Regions from separate parts of the Homo sapiens genome. Here region 1 is linked to region 2. Evidence: promoter capture Hi-C in human tissues and cell types (Jung and others, 2019). All regions are on one chromosome and are shown on one strand. Each heading gives the region's core, a stretch centred on a gene start or on the middle of the fragment in contact. The rest is flanking DNA. Distances are from core to core; before and after follow the strand shown. Region 1 has its middle 57 kb from the start of SCNN1B. Region 2 holds the start of COG7 (component of oligomeric golgi complex 7).

Evidence for each region. Contacts are between HindIII fragments. The study calls those that stand out against the background at their distance.
Region 1: a contact is called between a fragment that was not itself captured here and the fragment with the promoter of COG7 in region 2, in 2 of the 25 tissues and cell types used here (aorta and lymphoblastoid cells).

What each region holds. Positions count from the first base shown.
Region 1 is chr16:23,241,979-23,247,643 of GRCh38, forward strand. No RefSeq gene overlaps it. Among named protein-coding and RNA genes, the nearest start is that of SCNN1B, 57 kb to the right of the region's middle. The HindIII fragment of the contact is 3,421 bases long and covers 461-3,881 here.
Region 2 is chr16:23,449,015-23,454,463 of GRCh38, forward strand. COG7 (component of oligomeric golgi complex 7) reads right to left here and starts at 4,175. Exons shown (of 17, transcript NM_153603.4): 1 at 3,812-4,175. The coding sequence starts at 3,980. It overlaps LOC124903667 (a long non-coding RNA gene), which reads left to right and starts at 3,729. Exons shown (of 2, transcript XR_007065030.1): 1 at 3,729-4,251. RefSeq lists enhancers at 3,835-4,164, 4,455-4,504. The HindIII fragment of the contact is 22,477 bases long and covers 1-5,449 here.

The DNA of each region.
Region 1 (5,665 bases), core at 921-3,420, 210 kb before region 2:
GAGAATGAATGAGAAATAAAAAAGATTAGCAGATTGGAGAAGACATTCAAGGGATGGACGTGCATATAATTGGTTCCCTAAAAGAGTAGAACAGGAGCATTAGAGATTTATTGTAAAGAATTGACTTACATGATTTTGGAGGCTGAGAAGTCTTATGATGTGTGTCTGCAAACTGGACACCCAGGAAAGCTAGTGGTGTAGTTCCAGTTTGAGTTCCAGAAGAAGAACCAATGGTTTAAGTTCCAGTCCAAGTCTGAAGGCCTGAGTACCAGGAGCACCAATCACTTAAGTCCCAATCCAAAGGCAGGAGAAGACCAATGTTCTAGCTCAAACAGTCAGGCAGAGAGATCACATTTTCCCTTCCTCCACCTTTTTGTTCTATTCAGGCCTTCAATAGATTAGATGATGCCCCATCCACAGTGGTGGGGCAGTGAGAAATCTACCATGTCAAGTCCATCAATTCAAATGCTAATCTCATTGGGAAACATCCTCTCAGATACACCCAGAAATAATGTCTAGCCAAATTTCTGGGCACCCCATGGTCAAGTCAAGGTTATAAATAAAACGAACTATCACACACAGTCCAACATTTCCACAATATCCTATTGGTTACACAGATTGGCCCTATTCACTGTAGGAGAGGATTATACAATGGCATAAATACCAGGAAGCAGGAATCACTGAAGATCATCTTGAAGGCTGATTAGCACAAACCCAAACTTAGATTCAACCCTAAACCCAATGCTATGCCTAACCCCTGAAACCTCAATCTAAGTGGGAAATGAAATGTAGTGTGTGTGTCTATGTGTGTGCATACGCATGTGTGTGGTGAGGTGCACTGGGACATGGTGCTGGGAAAGGAACTGAAGGCCAAATAATGGGCAACTTGAAAGTCAGGCTAATGCATTTGAGTCTGATTCTCCAGACAGTTGGTGTCATTGAAGGTTTTTGAGCCTGGGAGCAATATGACAATATTGGTTTCAAACCCGCAATCTATGAGCAGTGTGGCACATAACAGATGAAGGAAGACAGTGGTGGCAGAGGATCAGTTAGTTACTGCAATGATCCAAGCAAGAGTTTCTGAAGGTCTCAACTATATCAGTGACAGTAGGAGTGGAGAGGCAGTAATACCTTCATGAGAGATTTACAAGTGAGAGCCAAACAAAGCCAAAGTCAAAACCAAGTGTTGGCCAAGTGCAGTGGCTTATGCTTATAATCTCAGCACTTTAGGAAGCTGATAATTTGAAGGATAATTTGAAGCCAGGAGTTTGAGACCAGCCTGGGCAACATAGGGAGACCCCATCTCTAAAAAATATTTCTGTTGTGGTTGTTGTTTTTTGTGTTTTTTCAGAGATGAGGTCTCACCATGTGGCCCAGGCTGATCACAAACTCCTGGCCTCAAGCAACCCTCCTACCTTGACCTCCCAAAGTGCTGAGATTACAAGCATGAACCACTGCACCTGGCCTAAAAATTTTTTTCTAACTAGCCAGGCACAATGGCATGCACCTGCAGTACCAGCTACTTGGAAGGCTAAGACAGAGGATGACTTGAGGCCAAGAGTTTGAGGCTGCAGTGAGCTATGATTGCACCACTGCACTTCAGCCTGGGTGACAGAATGAGACCCTGTCTCCAAACAAACAAACAAACAAAACCTAAGTGTTAATTCTCCTTGCAAACCTTTCCCATACCTCAGACCTAACCACAACCTTGGCCTTGACCTAAACTCCAACACCAACACCATAACTATTGTATTCATCAAAAATGCTGTAGTGACAAGAGACAGCAACCCAATCCAAGCCATTATATGTTAAAAAGGTAAATTTTTGTACTGTATAACTAAAAATTTCAGAGAAAGATGAATCAGCCTTTAGGCATGCCTTAATCCAGGGGGTGAAATGATCTTATTAGGGCTATCTCTCTCTCAGTGCTTCAGAAAGTCTCTCTTAGTTTCCATGAACAAGATGACCCTAAGCAGCCCAAGACTCATATTCTGGAAGCTTGGCATCCCCAGAACAAAGAATCTCCAGTGTCCAAATGCTGAATCCATTCCTAAAGTAATCACCATAGCCAGATTGGTGAAGGCCTCTGATTAGCCAGGCATGTGTGTATATCATTTTAAACTACATACATAGTATCAAACTATACATATGCAAGCTTTAAATTATGTCCACAAATTCTTTGGCACTCTTTTCTTTCAAAGGAGGAGTCTAGTTCCTATTCCCTTAAGTGTGGACCAAACTTAGTGACTTATTCTTAATGAATAGAATATGGTAGAATTGATGGTGTATGACTTCCAAGGTTAGGTCATAAAAAACATTGTCACTTTCATCTTGCACTCTGTCAGACTGCTCCCTCTGGGGGTAGTCAGCTACCATGTCATGAGGATACTCAAGTAGCCCTGTGGAGGAGGCCCACATGGAGAGGAACTCAGGCCTCCCACAAGTGATCAGCATCAACTTGACAGCCTTCTATATAAGCCAACTGAGAAATGGATCCTCCAGCCCCAGTCAAGTCTTCAGATGACAGTAGCCCCAGTTGACATCTTCATGGCAACTTTATGAGAAACCCCCAACCAGAACCTCCCAACTAAGCTACGTCTGAATTCATCACTCACAGAAACGATGAAGATAATAAATGTGTCTTGTTGCTTAAAGCCACTAAGTGTTGGGATACTTTGTTATATGTCAATAGATAATTAATACACATATCATTTTGCATCATGCTTTTTTCACTTAATATTTTGTTGCTTGGCTCTCTCATATTGATATGTGTAGATTGGGTTATTTATTCTAATGGCCACAGCCACATTTTATTTATCTATTCCCTTATTGCTAGACTTCTAGGTGGTCTCCCGGGTTTTTTAAATTACAAACTGTGCCATAACGAACAGAGTTGTGCATATGCATAGGAGCTTTTTGGGCAACATATCAAGGTTTTTCTGGATAGTACCAACTTGTTCTCCAAAGTAAATGTCCCAAGAAATTTTCCCACTAGGTGTATTTGAGAGTAGCATTCCTCCCACATCCCTAAAAGCACTGATATTTTCAGAATCTCAAACTTGTTGCCATGCCAAAGAGTGAAAACCATCTCATTGTTCTAATTTGCATTTCCCTGATAACTGGTGAATATCCCCACACTATCTGGCCATCCGGAGCCCTCTGCAGTAATGGATGCAAAGCTCATCGGATACTCCAGGGGTCTTCATCTCTTCATCTCCCAAGGAATCTCCCATGATCCTCCATCCCTTGGGCAAATTGGGTTCCTTGTAACTGGCCTGATGGAATACCCAGAAACGCCTCAGTTGGCCAACCATTTTCAGAAAGAATGTGGGCTCCGGACCGCAGTCTGGACTCACCCAGTTGTTCCAGGATGGAGGCCCAGCTCCACTCTCTCCCTTGCCCTTAGGAAGTGTGGCAGCAAACGACAAGGGGCAGCTGCCAGCCGGCTGGGACCTTAGCCAGGGTACAGAGTCTTCCAGAAAAAGCACCCAAGATTTCAGCCTTCTGGAGAGCATCCCAGTGGGGCAAAGAGGAAAGTAGAGAGAGGAGACATCAGCAAACTTCCCAGCCTCCACTTCAGGCATGTGCTAGGACTACATGCCCCTCCTCATGCCCTGAGGACTGGCCAGTGGGAACACAGAAATAGAGCCTGGCCTTGGATTTCCCTCGGAGCTGGGCTCTGGGACCAGCCCAGGCCTCAAGCAGGACCTCTCTGTTCTCAGCCTGAGCCACACCATGCTAGCAACTTACTTGGCCATCCCACCATCCTGGGACTCTTCCCCCAGCTTCAGGAACCCTGTCTGGTGTCTGCAGCATGGGGCACTATTTACCAGAGATCAGTCATTTGCAAAGCACCCTCATAACTGTATATCATATCCATATGCCACTGCATAATTACTTAACATTAAAAACATCTACTGAATTTTTCCATTTAAACACATTAATGGTAAAGGGAAAGTTATAGTCCTAACCAGCATCAGTATTAGTTAGTCCTATTAAACACCATCCTCTGTTGTCTTTGTTTAAAAAAAAAAAAAGCTGGACACGGTGGTTCATACCTGTAATCCCAGCACTTTGGGAGGCCGAGGCATGCTGATCACCTGAGGTCAGGAGTTCCAGACCAGCCTGACCAACATGGTGAAACCCCATCTCTACTAAAAATACAAAATTAGCTGGGCATGGTGGCACATGCCTGTAATCCCAGCTACTCAGAAGGCTGAGGCACAAGAATCACTTGAACTTGGGAGGCGGAGGTTGCAATGAGCCAAGATAGTGCCATTGCACTCCAGCCTGGGCAACAAGAGTGAAACTCGGTCTCAAAAAAAAAAAAAAAAAAAAAAGCTAGCAAAAGTAGAAAAGTGTTAAAGACCTTCTTTAGACTAGGCGCAATGGCTCATGCCTGTTACCCTAGCACTTTGAGGGCTGAGGCGGGTGGATTACTTGAGCTCAGGACTCCGAGACCAGCCTGGGCAACATGACGAAACCCCGTGTCTACAAAAAATACAGAAAAATAAGCCAGGCATGGTGGCAAGTGCCTCAAGTCCCAGCTACATTGCGGGGGTGAGGTAGGAGGATCGCTTGAACCTGGAAGGTCGAGGTTGCAGTAACCTGGGATCGCACCACTGTACTCCACTGGGTGACAAAGTGAGACCCTGTCTTGAAAAAAAAAAAAAAAGAAAGAGCTTCTTTCATACCAAATTGAGATTTTCTGTGACTCAATATTGTTCAATGTCTCTAAGCCACTTAGTGAAAGGGACCAGTAGCTTTTCACCAAAATTCATTCTCACCTTTCATAGTAATAGAGTAGTTATGGGCTGGCAGTGATTAGAATCTCATTTTCTAGCCCACTTCCCTTGTGGTTTAGTATGGCCTGGGTGGTTCTGAATAGAATGTGAGTAGATGCCACTTCTACATTAGGGCTTTGAGACAGCAGGTGCCTCCTTGATAAGGTTTGGATGTTTTGTCCCCTCCAAATCTCGTGCTGAAACATGACCTCCAGTGTTGGAGGTGGGTCTGGTGGAAGGTATTTGGGTAATGGGAACGCATCCCTCATGAATGGCTTGGTGCTGTCCTCATGGTAATGAGTGAGTTCTTGCTCTATGAATTCACTTGAGATCTGGTTATTTAAAAGCACCTGGTACCTCCTCCCTCACTCTCTTGCTCCGTCTTTACCATGTGACATGCCTGCTCCCCCTTGGCCTTCCACCATGATTGGAAAGTTCCTGAGGCCCTCATTAGAAGCACATACCAGTGCCATGCTTCTTGCAGAACCTAAAGAACTGTGAGCCAAATAAACCTCTTGGCTTTCTAAGTTACCCAGCTACAGGAATTCCTTTATTGCAACAAAGACAGACTAACACAGCTCTCCATGCCCTTTCCTCTTCCAGCTCACTGAGCTAGTGACACATTGAAAGCCACGTTGAAGATGGCAGAGTCACCTAGCACCCTGAAGGACTGCATAGAAGAGAACTGCCTCTACCCCTGAATAGTCATCAAAGATTATTAAATGAGCAAGAAATGCATTTTTATTTCATTTGTACCACTACATGTCTGGGTCCATTTGTTACAGATGCTTAGCCTGCAATAATACTCACCAAAACCTACAAGCTTTGCTTCCCACAGTGTTCACTCCACATTTTAGGGAGCAATGGATTGCAATGATTAA
Region 2 (5,449 bases), core at 2,925-5,424:
TGAATGTCTTATGTCTGAATGCCACTGAATGTCACCCCTTTAATGCAACAACTAAAAAAGCTCCCACAGCCAGGCGCAGTGGCTCACGCCTATAATCCCAGCACTTTGGGAGGCCGAGGCGAGTGGATCACAAGGTCAGGAGATCGAGACCATTCTGGCTAACAAGGTGAAACCCCGTCTCTACTAAAAATACAAAAAATTAGCCAGGCGTGGTGGCGGGCGCCTGTAGTCCCAGCTACTCGGGAGGCTGAGGCAGGAGAATGGTGTAAACCCTGGAGGCAGAGCTTGCAGTGCGTCGAGATCACGCCACTGCCCTCCAGCCTGGGCGACAGAGCGAGACTCCATCTCAAAAAAATAAAATTAAATTAAAATAAAATAAAATAAAATAAAATAAAATAAAATAAAATAAAATAAAAAATAAATAAAATAAATAAAAAAGCTCCCACAGTCCAGGCGCAATAGCTCATGCCTGTAATCCCAGCACTTTGGGAGGCCGAGGCAGGCAGATCACCTGAGGTTGGGAGCTCGAGACCAGCCTGACCATCATGTAGAACCCATCTCTACTAAAAATACAAAATTAGCCAGGCATGGTGGCGCATGCCTATACACCCAGCTACTCGGGAGGCTGAGGCAGGAGAATTGCTTGAACCCGAGAGGCGGAGGTTGCAGTGAGCCGCGATCACGCCATTGCACTCCATCGCACTCCATCCTGGGCAACAAGATTGAAACTCCATCTCAAAAAAAAAAAAAAAACCTCCCACCAATTTCCAAATAGTCCCTGTTCCTGAGGGCAGGAACAAGGATAAGGGGAGGCAAGGAAAGCATTGCAACCCATGTTTCAGAATCACTTAGTTAATACATATAGAGCACCAAAAAGAGTGTCTGACATGTACCAAACCTCATATATGTGCTATTATATCATTATTATTATTATTTTTGAGACAGAGTCTCACTCTGTCACCCAGGCTGGAGTGTAGTGGTGGGATCTCTGCTCACTGCAACTTCTGCCTCCTGGGTTCAAGCGATTCTCCTGCCTCAGCCTCCTGAGTAGCTGGGACTACAGCGCATGTCACCACACCCACCTCTAATTTTGTATTTTTAGTAGAGATGGGGTTTCACCATGTTGACCAGGCTGGTCTGGAACTCCTGACCTCAGGTGATTCTCTCGCCTCAGCCTTCCAAAAGTGCTGAGATTACAGGCATGAGCCACTGCGCCCAGCCAATTTGCTATTATATTATTATTAATGTCCTTTCCTCTTTGCCCTACAAAGTTTTCCTTCAAGGTCTAACACAGGGCAAGTGCTTTATGATTCTCCTAAACAAGAAGTAACTGCACCCTCCTGACAGTTCTCACAACTCCAGATTCTATTCTGAGTAAAGCCATCCGTCATTGTAATTTACTGTTTCTATCTTCCCCAAAGGCAGCAAGCTCGAGCAAGATAAACTTTTCCTCCCCACTGCCCATTTCTGGACACATGCATAGTAGATGCTCAATAATTAGTAAAAGATGCAAGGTACAATAAAGAATAAGGGCTGGGCGCGGTGGCTCACGCCTGTAATCCCAGCACTTTAGGAGGCAAAGGCTGGAGGATCGCCTGAGCTCAGGAGTTTGAGACCAGCCTGGACAACATAGTGAGACCCCATCTCTACAAAAAATCAAAAAATTGTGCCATCTGGCATGGTGGCACAAGCCTGTGGTCCCAGTTATTCAGGAGGCTGGGGCAGGAGAATTCCTCGAGCCCGAGAGGTGAAGCTGCAGTGAGCACTGACCACACCACTGCACTGTAGCCTGGGTGACAAAGTGAGACCCTGTCTCAAAAAAAAAAAGAAAGAAAGAAAACAATCTGCAGTGAAATAGAGCCCCCTCCCTACCTTTTCTTAAACAATGGGCACATCTGGCCGGGCACAGTGGCTCATGCCTGTAATCCCAGCACTTTGGGAGGCCGAGGTGGGTGGATCACCTGAGGTCAGGAGTTCAAGATCAGCCTGGCCAACATCATGAAACCCCATCTCTACTAAAAATACAAAAATTAGCCAGGGGTGGGGCACGCACCTGTAATCCCAGCTACTCAGGAGGTAGAGGCAGGAGAATAACTTGAACTCAGAAGGGGGAGGTTGCAGTGAGCTGAGATGGCGCCACTGCACTCCAGCCAGGGGGAAAGAGCGAGACTTCGTCTCAAAAAAAACAAAAAAACAAACAAAAATGGGAACATCTCTTGGACTATCCACTCCCAGTGGAAGCAGTCTGTTTGGTCTTTCCATCTGAGCCTAGGAGAGAGACTTGTGTGCAGTACGTACTGAATCAACACACAGTGAATCAACACACGGTGAATAAAAGTCAAGTTGAGGAGTTACATGAAATGGTTGCCAGTGCATGTTATTTTTTATAATTTAACTTATCCTCAACAAATGGTTTAGGCCAGGCGTGGTGGCTCACACCAGTAATCCTAGGGCTTTGGGAAGCCAAGATGGGAGGATCACTTGAGGTCAGAAATTTGAGATCAACCTGGGCAACATAGTGCGACCTTGTCTCTAAAAAAAAATTTTTTTTTTTAATTAGCCAGGCATGGTGGCACATGCCTATAGTTCCAGTTACTTGGGAGGCTGAGGCGAGCGGACTGCTTGAACCCAGAGTTTGAGGCTGCAGTGAACTATGATGGTATCACTGCATTCCAGCTTGGGCAGCAGAATGAGGAATGAGACCCTGTCTCAAAAAAAAAAAAAAAAAAAAGGTTTAAGTCTCCACTGAGACCAGCCTATCTTCCTCAGCTGAAATAAAATCCACTAAAACAATGTTTTCTAGATCTGTGTCATTCTCTTATACCTATACTATAATACGTTTTTTCCAGATATATGGATCTGTTGGCTATTCTTTCATACTCTCAAAATTCACTTTTTTTTTCTTTTTACAGTTTATTGTTTGGTACAAAACAGGCTCTTTAACTCTTTGAATAAACACCTCACAGACTCGTGCTCCTAGATTACAAAAAGTCAAAGCCAATTTTCTTTGACACTGGGCTCTTGACTCTGAGATTCAAGTCACTATAACAGAAACTGGAGTTGTTTTATCTTATATTCTGGAAGGTGCCTCAACAAAGACATGTTAAGAACTGGTTAAAACTTCTAGCATTTAAAAAGATCCATCTTGTCTTCCAGTGCCTATGGATAATAATAAAAAGGGAATCCCAGAGATCTGCTATTGAATTATTTAGAGAAGAGCTACTGCAATAAGATCCACTCTTTTAAGTTCCAAAAGGAAACTTCAGGCCAGATGTGGTGGCTCACAGGTATAATCACAGTACTTTGGGAGGCCAAGACTGGAAAACCCATTATGCCCAGGAATTTGAATTTGAGACCAGCCTGGCAACACAGTGAGATCCCATCTCTACAATTTTTTTTTTAAACAGAATTTGTGGGGCGCGGTGGCTCGCGCCTGTAGTCCTAGCGACTCGAGAGGCGAGAGGATCGCTTGAGTGCAGGAGTTCGAGGCTGCAGTGAGCTATGATCGAGCCACTGTAGAGAGACCCTGTTTCAAAAGAAAAAACAAAGAGAAAGAAAGAAAAGAAAAAGGAAACTTATAGCCCAGCCAGAGGAGGAAAAACAACACCCAAAATTAGCAAGTGTTCAAGACAGCCCGGCACCCAGCTGAGACTCCCGCTGACGTGATCAGGAGTTCGGGGCTTGCTCTTTTGCCGAGGGTATTTGCTGTCCATGCGTGCCCCGCCCACCTGAGTGCCTCACGCAAGTTCGGTGACCTCTGCCCAGCCGAGAGCAGGGGAGGGTCCCGCGGCCAGGGCCCCGAGCGGCTCACCCTCCACGGCGTGGTTCACCTCTTGGATGAACAGCTGCAGCTTCATCACCAGGGTGGCTGCGTGGCCATCCGCCTTCCCGGACGCCGCCTCCTTGGAGCCGGCCCTGAAGGCCGCATTGATCCACTCCTTCACGTCGAAGTCGTCTGCCAGGAACTTGGAGAAGTCCATGGCGGAACTGCCTCAGGCCTGGCGTCCAGAACTTAAGAGTTGGCTCCGGGCGGCAACGGGGATGCAGAAGCGAGCGAGCCTGCGAGAGCACCGAGGCTAGCCTCCGAGGCGAACCCCAGAAACGCCAGGACGGGTAACTTGCCCCTTTGCGCTTCCCCGCTCAGCGCACTCAGTTTGCGGCTGGGAATGACCCTCGCCGCCCGCCGTTCTTCTTCCGGAAGTCGTTGGCCGTTACCATAGTGACTGCAGGCGTCCGGAGCGCTGAGCAGAGGTGGGTGTGGGAAAACGCCCCGGACTGAGAGCTCCCGGCACCGACAAATATCCCATGTCTGCTAACATTTGCCGAGGACTAAACTATATGCTTACTATAAAGCCCTGACATACATTAGCGCATTTACGCGGTGGCTCGCGCCTGTAATCCCAGCTCTTTAGGAAGCTGACGCGGGAGAATCGCTTGAGGCCAGGAGTTCTAGGACAGCCTGGGCAACAGTGGAGCGCAGTGGGCAGCAATGGAGTGCAATTGAACGATCTCTGCTCACTACAGCCTCAAATTCCTGGGCAATTGAACGATCTCAGCTCACTGCAGCCTCAAATTTCTGGGCTCCAGCGATCCTCCCACCTCAGCCTCCAGAGTAGCTGGGACTACAGGCGCGCGACAACACGCCCGGCTATTTCTTTCTTTTTCTTTCTTTCTTTATTTTTTTCTGAGACGGAGTCTTGCTCTGTCGCCCAGGTTGGAGCGAAGTGACGCGATCTCGGCTCACTGCAACCTCCGCCTCCCAGGTTCAAGCGAGTGTCTTGCCTCAGCCTCCCGAGTAGCTGGGATTACAGGCGCGTGCCACCACGCCCGGCTACTTTTTGTATTATTAGTAGAGATGGGGTTTCACCACGCTGGCCAGGCTGGCCTCAAACTCCCAACCTCAGGTGATCCGCCTGCCTCGGCCTCCCAAAGTGTTGGGATCACAGGCGTGAGTCACCGCGCCTGGCCTAACTAATTATTTTCTTAATGATGTGTTTTGAGGTGCAGACCTTTTAAAGTTTGTTAAGTTCCTTATCACCTTTTTTTATGGATCATGCTTTTGGTGTTGCGGCTGAGAAATCTGTGCATAACCCATAATCACAAACAATTTCTCAGCCTGGGCAACATAGGAAGACCCCGTCTCTGCAAAAAAATTAAAAATTAGCTGAGTGTGGTGGCGCACACCTGTAGTCTCAGCTACTCGAGAGGCTGGGGTGAGAGGATTGCCTGAGCCCAGGAGGTCGAGGCTGCAGTGAGCTGTGATCACGCCACTGCACTCCAGCCTGGGTGACAGAGCGAGACCCTGTCTCGAAAAGAAAAGAAGAAAAGGTAGGGGAAGGTATGAGGGTATTCTTTAGGTTCTAAGTTTTTATGTTGTTTCAAGAGTGGGACCAACCCAAGGGGGAGGACAAGATGTCATCCTTGGAAACCCTACAGGGGACAGTTTTCC